Regions from separate parts of the Homo sapiens genome. Here region 1 is linked to region 2. Evidence: promoter capture Hi-C in human tissues and cell types (Jung and others, 2019). All regions are on one chromosome and are shown on one strand. Each heading gives the region's core, a stretch centred on a gene start or on the middle of the fragment in contact. The rest is flanking DNA. Distances are from core to core; before and after follow the strand shown.

Evidence for each region. Contacts are between HindIII fragments. The study calls those that stand out against the background at their distance.
Region 1: a fragment that was not itself captured here is called in contact with the fragment with the promoter of TMEM51 in region 2 in 1 of the 25 tissues and cell types used here (adrenal gland).

Annotation. Positions count from the first base shown.
Region 1 is chr1:15,309,023-15,315,238 of GRCh38, forward strand. It overlaps FHAD1 (forkhead associated phosphopeptide binding domain 1), which reads left to right. Exons shown (of 34, transcript NM_001391957.1): 8 at 4,035-4,165. Among named protein-coding and RNA genes, the nearest start is that of FHAD1-AS1, 32 kb to the right of the region's middle. The HindIII fragment of the contact is 6,121 bases long and covers 1-4,688 here.
Region 2 is chr1:15,149,981-15,156,505 of GRCh38, forward strand. TMEM51 (transmembrane protein 51) reads left to right here and starts at 3,767. Exons shown (of 4, transcript NM_001136218.2): 1 at 3,767-3,974. It overlaps TMEM51-AS1 (TMEM51 antisense RNA 1), which reads right to left and starts at 2,484. Exons shown (of 5, transcript NR_027136.1): 1 at 2,311-2,484. RefSeq lists silencers at 3,590-3,859, 3,920-3,969, 4,060-4,239 and enhancers at 3,949-4,610, 4,390-4,479, 4,611-5,272. The HindIII fragment of the contact is 16,508 bases long and covers 1-6,525 here.

The DNA.
Region 1 (6,216 bases), core at 378-2,877, 160 kb after region 2:
CACCAGGGAACACACAGGACAAGCTGCAGCTCAGGCAGTCCCATGAGCCAGTTTGCTGTGAATGCAAACTAGAATGTGGCTAAAATGGGGTTGCCAGTTTAAGGCACCCAGCCTCTTACCCATCTCACACTGGTGCTCTTGGGCCGGAGCGAAAGCATTTTGCTAATTGAGAGGTAGCTGGATACTCAAGAACTTGGGTGGGCAAGGGGGCAGCCAACTCATGGCCCACCCTTGCCAGGCACAGCTGTTTCTTAGCCTGGATTCATTCATTCATTCATTCATTCAGCACATTTATGGAGCAGCTGCTAGATGCCAGGCACTGTTCTAGGCACTGGGGAGAGAGAGCCCTGAGCAGTCAAGATCCCTCTGCCCCTCTGCTCATGGGGCTCACACTTGGGAGAGGATGACAGACAATAAGAAGTAAAAAGATAAATGAACAAGCCCATACCAGAGAGAGATCAGTGCTCCAGAGGAAATAAAGCTGGACACCGTGGTGGGGAAGCACTCAGGGGGTGAAGTGAAGGAGAATAGCTTAGTGCAAGCTTGTCCAGCCCACGACCTGCGGGCCACATATGGCCCAGGACAGCTTTGAATGAGGCTCGACACAAATTCCTCAACTTTCCTAAAACATTATGAGATTTTTTTTTTTTAGCGATTTTTTTTTTTAGCTCATCAGTTATTATTAGCGTGAGTGTATTTTATGCGTGGCCCAAGACCCTTCTTCTTCTTCCAGTGTGGCTCAGGGAAGCCAAAAGATTGGACATCCCTGGCTTAGTGCCTGGGCAGGGATATCTCTGAGGAGGTGGGAGGGGCTGTCGGGAGGCCCCTGGGAACGGTATGCTGGGCAGAGAGCACAGGTGCAAAGGCCCCGAGGCTGGACCAAGCCACGGTGTTGGATCAACTGCCGGCGAGTGTGGCTGGAGTCAGGGAACAAGGGGCTATGGGACCTGGTGGGGTCAGGGGGGAGGCAGGGCCACATTACATGGGAGGGGTTCAGGTTTTCTTCTAAGTGTGATGGGACACGTTAGGGTTTTTAAGGCAGAGAATGGCATGTCTCGAGACCTGCAGATGATAGGGCCATGGACAGAGAAAGGGGGAAGAGAGAAAAGCAGGTGGTGGAGAGGGAATGAGTCCAGATTGGGCATATTGCTCCTAAAGTCCCCCCTGCACAGCAGGAAACATGCCCGTGGCTGTGAAAGCAGAGCGTAGCATTGAGTCAGACACAATCGCTGTCTCCGCAGGACCCAGGCCGCCTGGCCGTGGCTTTCCCTCTGCCTCACTCTGCAGTCCCCCTCCCCACTCCAGGCTTCTACCTCTGTTCTTCCCTAACATGGAATGTTCTTGGATACTTGTGAGCCCTATGGGCAGGGCTGCTCTGGGCACCAGGCATCCCAGGGGGATCTCGCTGGGCCCTGCCCTCCTCCCCAGCGTCTGTCCATCACACCCCATCCACGCTACAAGCCTGTCTCAGACACCACTCCTCTAATCAAGGAGTCAGACAGACCTGGGCTCAGGTATGGCCTGGGATGGGCTACACTCTCACGGCCCCAAGTGTGGTCCCTGGACCAGCAGCATCAGCATCACCTGGATCCTTGTGAGAAACTGGGAATTTCAGGCCCCACTCCTGACCTTCCGATCAGAATCTTCATTTTCACAAGCCTCCCGGCTGCTGCTTGTGCACACTTAAGCTCGAGAAGCACTGGGCCGGGTTACGCTGCAGTGACAAACAGTCCCCCAAGTCTCAGTGGCTCACAATAGACAGGTTCAGCTCCTGCTTCCACCCTGAGCCCATCATGGGTCAGTAGGGGCTTTGGTCATTGTGGCCACACAGTGACCCAGGCTCACAGAAGCCATCACAACACATCACAAACCCCATCTTCCACAGGAAGAGAGGCAGATGGAGGAACAAGGTGCGGATTTCCTCACCTGCCTGAAACAACTCAAACAAACAAACAAAAACCAAACAAACAGAAAAAAATGTCTGAAATAATGGTTTCCATCTATTGGCCCCAAGAAGCATGTGACGATGATCTGGGAGGGAGTGGAAACAAACAAGATGAAATCTACGATTGCCCCCGGCTGGCTTGCGCTGGAGAGAGTTTCCAGACCACAGCAGGGAGGGGAAGCCAGACAGAGCCCAGTGGTCAGCCCGACTTGAGGAGATGGAGGTGGAGAAGCCAGCACAGCTTGAGTTTGCTGGGTGGCGTGCCAGGCGGGAGGGGGCTGCACGGAGAGCACCCCGGAGATCTCAGAGGGTCCGCCTCAAGTCTTCAGCAGAGTCAGGTGTGATGAGCACGTGCATGTGGGCAGGGAAGGAACCACCCAGGAGGAGCAGAGGGAACCATCTCGAAGCCCACGTAGGCCTGAGAGTAGCTCACTTTCCCACCATCCAGAATGGGGCAACCTTGCACTACACAGGGCACCTGGTAGAGACTCAAGCCAAATTCATTCTAGAGAAAAGGTCACTCTGGTCCCGCCTCACAAAGCATGCAGGCAAGCCCCAGAGAGAGCAGTCTGTTTCTAAGGAACTTAACTGTGTCCCCGGACGAAGCTCATTTTTACAATGAAATTCTGAATCATGTTGTTCTTTATTACACATCCTTGATTGTGCAATAAAGATTGATTCTTGATTGATACCCACCAATAAAACTAGGATGAATGTTTTTCTAAGAAAAGGACCGTATGAGATAACCCAATACCACTGCATTATGCACCCTTCTTCTCACTTTTTCTCAATGTGATAATACAATAATATATTGACTATCTGCTGTCACATAAGTTATCCCAAAAAAGCAACAAATATGTTTATCTTACCCGGTTTCTGTGGTTCAGGAACTTGGGAGTGACTTAGTCTGGCTCAGGGTCTCTCACGAGGTTGCAGGAGCTACTGCTGTCATGTCATCTAAAGCCCGACTAGGGCTCGAGGATCCCCTTCTGGAATGACTCGCTCACATGGCTGTTGGCTGGAGGCCTCAGTTCCTCACCATGTGTGTCCTTCCCTAGGGCTGCTTGAGTGTCCTCACAACATGGCGGTTGGCTTTCCCCAGACTGAGTGATCCAAGGAGAGCAAAGAAGAAACCACAACATCTTTGATGATTCACCCTGGGAAGTCACATTCACCACTTCCACAGTGCCATATGAGTTACACACGTCAGCCCTATTCAGGTGGGAGGGGGCTACACGAGGCCAGGTATTCTAACAGGCAGGGATCATGGGGGCCATTTTGCAAGCTGGCTACCACATATACTTGTGGGTGGCAGGGAATAAACACTATGTGTTAGCCACTCTACTATGTTCTTTATACAACTCTGTAGATACAATGAGAGGTTAAATAACTTCTTCAGACCACTAAGCTAGGCTGGGCATTGTGGCTCACATCTGTAATCCCAGCACTTTGGGAGACAGAGGCTGGTGGATTGCTTCAGCCTGGGAGTTTGAGACCCGCCTGGGCAACATGGGCAAAACTCCATGTCTACAAAAAATACAAAAATTAGCCAGGCATAGTGGCACGTACCTGTAGTCCTAGCTACTTGGGAGGCCAAGGCAGGAGGATCGCCTGAGTCCAGGAGGTCGAGGCTGTAGTGAACCATGATCGTGCCACTGTACTCCAGCCTGGGTGACAGAGTAAGACCCTGTCTCAAGAAAAAAGACGACTGAGCTAGTAAGTGCTAGAGACGGTTTCCAAACTCAGATGAGTGTGAATCAACACGTCCCTTGCTGCCACAGGCCCATGTCGTGGCCCCTCCTGGTCCCTCTCTCTGCTGAGCCTTTGTTCCCAGGCAGGGCCGATGCCCACAGCACCCCGACAGATGTTTCCTGTCTCCAGCAACACGCACTGACTGACCTCTCCTTCTCACTGGGACCTTGAACAAATGATGTGCAGTGGATATTGGTCTCAACCCCATTCAAGCTCCTGGGATCCTTGGAGACACCTCCCTTCTCAGTGCCAGGCTCGTCACAAACTGGTTGACAGCGGCAGCGATGACAGTCATCCTCACTGCCTCTTTGACCTCTGCGAGTCTTCTTTTTTACAGGGATGGTGTCATCTTTGCAAAAAGACATATTAGCAAAGGATGAGCAAGTTCAACAACTAAAGGAAGAGGTCAGTCACCTAAAAAGTCAGAACAAGGACAAGGACCACCAGCTGGAAGCCCTTGGCTCTAGAGTGAGTAAGGATGACTGCGTCACCTTGTAGCCATCCGGTGAAAAGCAGCTAAAGTGAAGTCACGTGATATGCTTGTTTCATTCACCCTGGGCCCTTAGTTTAAATTTCATTCCTTCCTCTCACACCATTGTGCTGGGGGCGGGGTGGTGGGGGGGTGGGCGTTGGGGGCAAAACATGAAATGCCTACCTAGAAAAACTAAAACAGCTGGCCACATTCTTTGCACCTTTTCAAAGATCGGCGTGCACGTGCCCCAGAATAAGCAAGATGTAGCTTCAACTCCAGGAAACATTTTCTAATGCCCATTATAAATGAGTTTGGTTAATTCCAGCAGTAAATGCACCTCTCAGCTTGGCTATTTCCATGGCAAGGCTTAATATTAAAGCAGAATAGAATCACTGCATGCAAAAGAGGACACGGTGGGCTTCCCCTCATCCCAGTAACCACTGGTTTGCACAGTCACCTTCGAAGCAGAATGTTTGCAGGCCCAAGTGCAGTTAGACAGACTTTCATTTCTTCCCTTAGACTTTAGTGTGGGTAAGAATATTCTGTGTGGAGTGAACCTGGTAGGCAAGTCAAGAGCTGTTTAAAAGTAATTTTGAGGCCAGGCACGGTGGCTAATGCCTGTAATCCCAGCACTTTTGGGAGGCCGAGGCTGGTGGATCACACGAGATCAGGAGTTTGAGGCCAGCCTGGCCAACATGGTGAAAATCTGTCTCTGCTAAAAATAACAAAAATTAGCCAGGCGCCTGTAATCCCAGCTACTCAGGAGGCTGAGGCAGGAGAATAGCTTGAACCTGGGAGGCAGAAATTGCAGTGAGCTGAGATCGCGCCATTGCACTCCAGCCTGGGCAACAAGAGTGAAACTCCGTCTCAAATAATAATAATAATAATAATAATAATAATAATAATAATAACTATTTGCAAAATGTACCTCAATGCTCTGACTTTAGAATCCTGAACCTATAGGATTTCTCAGTATTTGTGAGATGTGTCTGTTTCGGTGAGTCAAGGTAAAACCTAACAGCTTTCATCTCAGGTGTGCCTGAAGAGTTCGCCAAGTCTGCATGGGCACCCAGGCAGGGTGGATCTGGGGGTCCAAGGATGAAGCAGCAGTAGTGACCTCTGGCTCTGACCGCAGTGCCCCAACTGGAGCTGGGGAAAGGCAGGACAGGAGCCCCGGGGGCACACAGACCAGGGTCCGAGCCCAGAGTGGGCTTTTGTTATAACTGATGTGGCCTCCCCTTTGTCATCAGCGAAATGGGAACAACAAAATCAGTTTTGAGAAGTGAGAGGCCGGTTTGCATTGTGCGCTTCCGCCTCTGCGGCTGGTTAGCCCGCCTCGCCCAGCCCTCTGCATCCGTCCCCCGAGCAGGGTCACCGCCTGGATTACATGTGTTGTCGCCCTTTCAGGTGTGTGGGTATGTGGGTGTGGGTGTGAGGATGTATGTGGGTGTGTGGGGGTATGGATGTGTGGTGTGGGGGTGAATGGGTGTGTGGGGATGTGGATGTGTGTAAGTGTGTATGGGTGTGTGTGGATATGGGTAGGTGTGTGTGTGAGTGTGGTGTGTGGGGGTGTATGGGTGTGTGGGGGTATGGATGTGTGGTGTGGGGGTGAATGGGTGTGTGGGGGTGTGGATGTGTGTAGGTGAGTGGGTGAGGGGGCGTGTGGATGTGTGGGTGTGGTGTGGTATGGGGGTGCGTGTGGGGTGTGTGGGGTGTGTGGATGTGTGTCGGGGCTGTAGAGCTGATGTTAGGTGGGAGAAATACGGAGAAACAGCAGCTCCGGAGCTCTTCTGCCCACGAAGTGCATTTGGGTTACTTGTGTCCCCATTTCCCTTCCCCGTTGACCTTGGAACAGGTCTGCCTTCTTCTCCAGGCCGCACCTGGCGTTCATCAGCACGTGGGCTCCTCGTGACCAAGGGTATTGCTCATGTGAACATCCGAATGACTGTCTTTATTTTTCAAATTACATGTGCTGTGTTAATTTTAGAATAAAAAGTAGATAAAACTGGAGAGCAAAATTAAAGAGAGAAGAGAAATGCCACCGCCA
Region 2 (6,525 bases), core at 2,517-5,016:
GCATGATGATCTATTTCTATAAGCTGATTTTCCAGCCTCACTTTCATTGATGTGCCTGGAAAGTCAGTAGCATGACAGACTGGGGTCTTGGTCACTAACCAGGGACAGTCGAATATTTTAAAACTGTCGTTATTTACCCATTCAGCCAGAAAGAATAAAAATGTAATGCCACGGGAATTCTCAGAACAGCATCCTCTCCTCTTTGAATTCAGGCTTTCAGAACTAGACAGGCTAATGCTCCCACAACTCATGTTCAGGCCACACTGGGTACTTTGTCACATACTAGTTCACCTGATCCCCGAGTTGGTCCTGGAAAATAGGTATTATTAGCATAGAAATGCTAATAATTTTTTTTTGACACATGAGGAAACTGAGGCTCAGAGAGGACAAGACATCTGCCCAGGGTCACACAACTCACAAATAGCAGAGGATTCAGAAACCAAAGACAAAGGTGATGGAATCCTGCCTTCTTTCTAAATCCGTGATGTAGGCTAGATCATGGTGCCTCTTCAGAAGTTTACAGTGGACAGTTAGCCAAAAAAGCAGGTGAAGTGAACATCTGCCTAGGTGACTGAGTTTGCAGGATGTATTAGTTTCCTCCCGCTGCTGTGACAAATTGACCCAAACTTCATGGCTTAGAACAACACAGTGAACTATCTTCTTACAGTTCTGGAGGTCAGATGTCCAAAACGGATCTGCAAATGCCTTCCCACCTTCAAATCATAAGGCAGACCCAAACTTGCCTTTTTGTGGATGCCAAGAGCTCCTTCTGGATGCTCTGGCTGACACTCCATTCCTTTCCTTTTCTAGCTCCTAGAGGCTGCCCACATTCCTTGGCTACTGACCCTTGTCCAGCAACTGTATCATTCTGATCTCTACTTCTATCACCACATCTCCCTCTCTAACTCTGACCCTCCCGCTTCCCTCTTGTAGGAACCCTTTTGACAACATTGGACCCACCAGGAAAATCAAGGATAACCTCCCCGTCCCAACATCTTTAACTTGATCCCATCTGCAAAGTCCCTTTTGCCACGTAAAGTAACCAGTTCTGGGGATCAGGTTGTGAACATCTTTGGGCAGCCATTATTCTGCCTATCACAGAAGGGGGTTCCTAGCTTAGTGATTTAGAGCAAGGGCCCTGCAAAGACCCCAGATTCAAATACTTTGTCACTTGCTAGCAGATCCAGGTACCTAACTTCTCTGAGTCTTAACAGCCTCATCTGAAAAACTAGAATAATAGAATCTTCCTTCTAGGGCTGTTTTGAAAACCAAAGAACACAATGTATGCAGTGCACGTGAAACACAGGGTTCAATAAATGGTAGGGAAGATTCAGAGAAACTAACCATGTAGAGGGAGAGGGCTGTGGAGGAGAGGAGGATAAGGAGAGGCATGCTTCCTTTGGTAGCTTCTTCAGTTTTGCCTGGGCCTCAGCTTTGCCTGAGAATTTCGTCAGTCTCTCCCCAGATCAGCCAGGGTGAGCCTGCTTAAATGGAACACTCTGAAGATGATATCCTGTGATAAACAAGACCTGCCCAGTTGAGTCTGCAGCAGAGTGGGGCGGGTCTGGGATGACCCTGGCATGGAAAAGTACAGCAGCTCTTTGTCTTCAGATTAGGAGCTGGGACAGCTGTTCTGACATGATCACCCCCCGCCCCCACCCCAGGCCTCTCCAAAGTCCATCTTGCAGAGTCAAATGAAAACCAGATTCCTGGTCTTATCTGAGAGCTACGTGACTGTTTCCTGTCACTCCTTTGGAGCCTGGGAAGGTCCCCACATGCATTGTCTAAACTTTGGGATGAATACGCACAGCTCTTAAATGGGAGCATATTATTATAGGTACCTGCCTACACAAAGGGTCCTCCCTATTCACTAAAATCATGGGTTATTATTTAGGGCTTTCATTCATCCAACAAATGTTTATTCCGCATTTGCAGGTGGCCAGGCAAGGTGAACATTCTCTCAGGGTGGAGAGTATGTGCAGACAGGAGGAATTATGCTATGGGAGGGAGAGCAGAAGCTCTGGAGTGGATCATCTTGGGTCTAGATCCTGATACTTCCCAGCTGTGTTTTCACTGGGCAAAATGACCTCACCTCCTTAAGCCTCAGCCTTCTCTTCTATAAAGTGGGCATAACAAATAACCGCCTCCTAGGTTATGAGGATTAAATGAGATGGTTCAGGGGATGTGGGTGGTAACCCCGCCCCTGGTTCATAGCAAGGATGTGAGGAATAGCAGTTGCTGTCATAGACATGGAGACTGTTTCCCCAAATGCCTTCCCACCCCCAAATCATAAGGCAGACCCAAACTTGCCTTTTTGTGGACGCCAAGGTTCTGTCGAGCTGTTAGGGTGCAAGTTAAGAAGCCAGAATGGCGGGCTGAGGGGAGAAATGCCCGCATGTTACAACTCTGCAGGTGTACACACGTGGACACCATATGTACCCATGAATTCCGCCTTTGGAAGTGAACTTGATTGCAGCCTATTTTCGTCTGGAGGCGGTGGATTCCCGGTAGGAGGCGCCTTCAGTCCTCGGCTCGATCCTGTGACGCCAGCCAGCTGCCTATCGGCTTCTCAGTGTTTGAACTTCAAAGGGCTGGACGCTCACCCAAGAAGGGGACCCCGGCCTGACCTCTCTCGGAATTCAAAAAAATCTAAGGCTCAGAGAGGGAATGGGAGCTGGCTCTTCCCTCTGTGTTTAGCATCCACGTTTTTTGGCGGTCTGGCTGAAACCAGCCCACCCTAGTTCGGGCGCCAGAGCAACGCAGTTCCGAGGGCAGATCTCCAAGGGGCGGAGGCAGAGCCGCGGGTGAGAGGCTTCCGCGCCGACTTCGGGTTTGCACTCCCCGGAGCCAGAACTCCGTGGCGGCTCCGGGCCTCCGTGGATCCGAGCAGAGACTGGCTGCCCGCCTGCCACTCGCAGGCTGGGAAAACGCCAGCCGGTGCCTCGCCGGGAAAGTTCTCGGCAAAGCTGGGGATGAGCCCTCAGCAGGGCAGGCTCCCGGTGCAGCGCGCCCCCATCCATTGCCCGCGCGCAAGAACCCGGAATGGGCCCCACCTGGGCCGGGACTCGGGCGTGCGATCCCGAGGGCGCCCTGGGGACCACGCATCGGGTGGGGACCCTGGCCGAGGGCGTGAGCTGACTCAGTTTTTAAAAACTCGCTTCCTCCTTCCCTACTTGTGCCGGTCACTCACCTCGCTGGGAACCAGCCCAGGGCAGAAGGGGGAGAGGGAGGCGGTGGCCTCCCCAGGAAGGAGGAGAGGTGAGTATCCCGCCAGGTAAAGGCGGGGCGGCTGGCGGAGCTGTGCCTCGGCGTCTGCGCCTGGTGTGGGAGGAAAGCGGGTCTCCCAGCTCCACTTAAACCCCTAAAACCTGGGACTTCTAGCTTGAGACATTCCCCGACCACCACCCGTCACACACACGCGCGTGCGCGCACACACGCATGCACACCGATTCTCTGGGCCCTAGGGAGGAGGGGGGATCAGGGCTCTATTTTCTCCCGACCCCCTCTTATCCAACTCGGCTGGCAAGGGTTGGGGAGAACTTAGGCCCAGCCCCCGGCACACGCTCAGCGCGCTCCAGCGGCATACGCTGGGGAGTGGGTGCCCGCCTCGCTCAGCTGCGATCCCTCGCCTCGGGCCCGGGGGTGGTGCCGAGGGCCGGGAGGGAGGGTCGGCCGGTGGGCGGTGCTTCTCCGGGCTGGAGGCCGCTCCTGGCCGGCACCGCCCTCCGCCTCCCGCGGTCCCTCCCTCCCGCACGCCGGCGCTCCCAGGCCGCGCTTCCTGCGTCCCCAACCCGGTCCCTGAGAGGGCAGTGCGCCCTCTCCACCACTGCGTTCCCTCGGCTAAGAATCCCCCGAACCCCAGCCCCGCGATCGCGGCGCCCACCGAGGAGGCCGCCCGGGTGGGGCGCGGGGGTCGCGAAGCCCGCAGTCCCGGACCGCCCAGCCGAGACGGAGCCGGACCCGCCGCCTCCCGGGTGAGTCTCAGCCGCCGCGCCTTGCGCCCGCTGCTTCCCGCGGCGCGCTGTCGGTTCCCCACAGGGCCGTGTAAGGGGGCCGAGGCCCGTTTGGGTCTCCTGTCCGTCCGTCTGTCCGCCGAGCGCTTCCCGCCTGGGGTCGACCACCGGGAGGACTCCGCACCCCGCACCCTCTGCGGCCGCGCCCCGCCGGCGCGGGACGCTCCCGCCTCCCGGGCACCGCGCCTGGCCAGCTGGCCTCGGCTGGGGAAGGCAGCTGGCCTTGGGGGCCCCCTGTTGGCGGGAACAGGTGCTATCCGCCCGGCGGGCTTCGAACCCTTGGCTTCGCCAGAAGCGCTTTCAGCGCGTGGTTAGGAGCAGAACTTCCCAGTAGGTCCCAGGAAACCACCTTGGCGCTTTGCTCGCGCATCCCTTACTGTATGGAAGTCGGGGCCTTTTAGGGATTTAGATTCGTGTGTGTGTATGTGTGTGTGTCGCTCTACAAGCAAACACGGGGGTAAAGAATCGGGCATGAGCAAAGTGGATTGAAACTCGAGTCCTTCCCTGAGCGCGTCGGTTTCTTCATCTGTGAAACTGACATGACAACGTCCCAGGGTGCGGCGGGGCATTCATGCCCAGCACCCAGCAAGCACTCAGCGGTAAGTTACGTTACCGGGCCTAGGGGAGAGCAGAGTACAAATCAGATCTCAAATCAGCGCACAAACGGGAGGCGCTTGGCCCGGCGCGCCTGGTCTGCATTACAGGATAATGGTCTCTTTCCCAACCAGCGGTGGGGGCGAGAGACCTGGCCCCTCCCCCACGGTTTCCCCAGGGAGCAGCCCGTGGGGTGTCCTGCGCAGCGCTCCGAGGTGCCTGTGACGGTGCATGGGACTGCGGGTCCTTCCCAACAGCAGGGGAGGTCTGGCTGCTGGGAACCCGGGCGCTGCCGGAGTGGGGTGGGCGGGGACGAGGTGGGCGGGGCAGGGACCCGAACCGGGAGGTAAGTCAGCGGGTGGAAGGCTTTCCCCTCTAGGACCGGCCGGCTTCTGGCTTTCCTTTTGAATGGGTTACCCGGAGAACAGCTTGTCTAGGGAACTGTTGGCCCTGGGACCGTGAACAGCTTTCACACCCCGGAAACCTGTCACAAGAGGATCCTGACCTATTGGGACAGAGCCCCTGCCCCTCCAAATATCTCACTCCACCAATTGAGAGGTACCCCCAGACTGGGAGAAAAGGCCAAAGAAAGAGAGAGGAGGCTAGTGGTGAACCTGCTCCTCACGGCTTCGGAGCTGACAGCTCTCTGATGGGGTGTCTGGGGCCTGCCCCAGTGACCCAGAGCCCAGAAGCCTCAGGGAGCCCCCAGCCTAGTGAGGGAGTCAGGGATACTCATGAAAAGTGTTGCAGAATTGGCGATACAGTCAGGCCACACCACTTGCTGGCTGTGTGACCTGACCTCTCTGAGCCTCAGCTTCTTCATCTGTAAAATGGGATGATGATCTCCAAGGGCGAGGTGGGGTATTTATGCCTAGCACATGAAGTATTCTATAGTAAGTTATGTCACAGGGCTTAGACGAGAACAGAAGAAAGGAAATAACTCAGGAGGTCCTGCTAAGAAAAGAGTATTAGAATATTCATCAGGGAACTGGAGTCCCCCCAGGGAACAGGGGAGGAAGGGTGTCTGGGCAGATCGAACAGCACAGGCAAAGGCACAGCGACAGGAGAGTGCCTGGGGTGTGCTGGGCTGGGGAAGGTGCTCAGGCAGTGGAGGGTGTGGAAAAGTAAAGGGAATGGAAGGTCCGGAGTGAGCTGGACTGGACAGGTGGGGGCTTTCTTGGAATCATTCAACATATGTTGGCCGAGCACCTTCTGTGGGCCAGGCGCTGTTCTAGGTGCTCAACAAAGATGAACAACATGGAGAAAGACGTCCCTTTCATTCAAGTTCTCTAAGCAGGGAAGTCGTCTGATCCCATCCATATGTTAAGAAGATAATCCTGGCTGCCTGGAAGTTGGCGAGGATCCTAGAGAAGACTCCTAGGAGAGAGAGGCTGGCCTGTGGGTTGGTGGGGGCAGTGGGAATGAATGGGGGAGCTGGAGGAGAGGCCCATACAGGAAGCAGAGAGTAATGTGTGGCCTTCACTCATGACTGTTGGTCAAGGGTAAGATTCTGGGGTTCTACATGAGGCCCAAACTGCCAGCCTGGTCCCCTGCCAGAGAGAAGTAGTGAGTGAGTGTCTGGGGTATTGGCAGGACCCAAGCCCCTCCAGCTGCGACTCTCCGGCTCGCTGGCTCCAGATGTCACGAGGCCTGGGAGTTTCTCTGTCTGCGTGAGGGATGGGAAAGCTGGAGGCAGAGGCCAGCTGGAGCTTCTGGGGCTCCCGTTTTAATAGGTTGTGTTTCTGGTCAACGTTCCTCCCTCCCTCTGCAGGCCTGGCTGTAAACCCCTCAGGCTTCTTGGGCTGGAAGAGGCCAGAGTGTGAGGAGCTTTAGTGTGGATTCTCTTCCCCCAGCCCCAAATTAAGGTGGGAGTCATGCAAAAGAGAAGCATTGTCTCCCTCGGTGCTGGGAAAGTTTC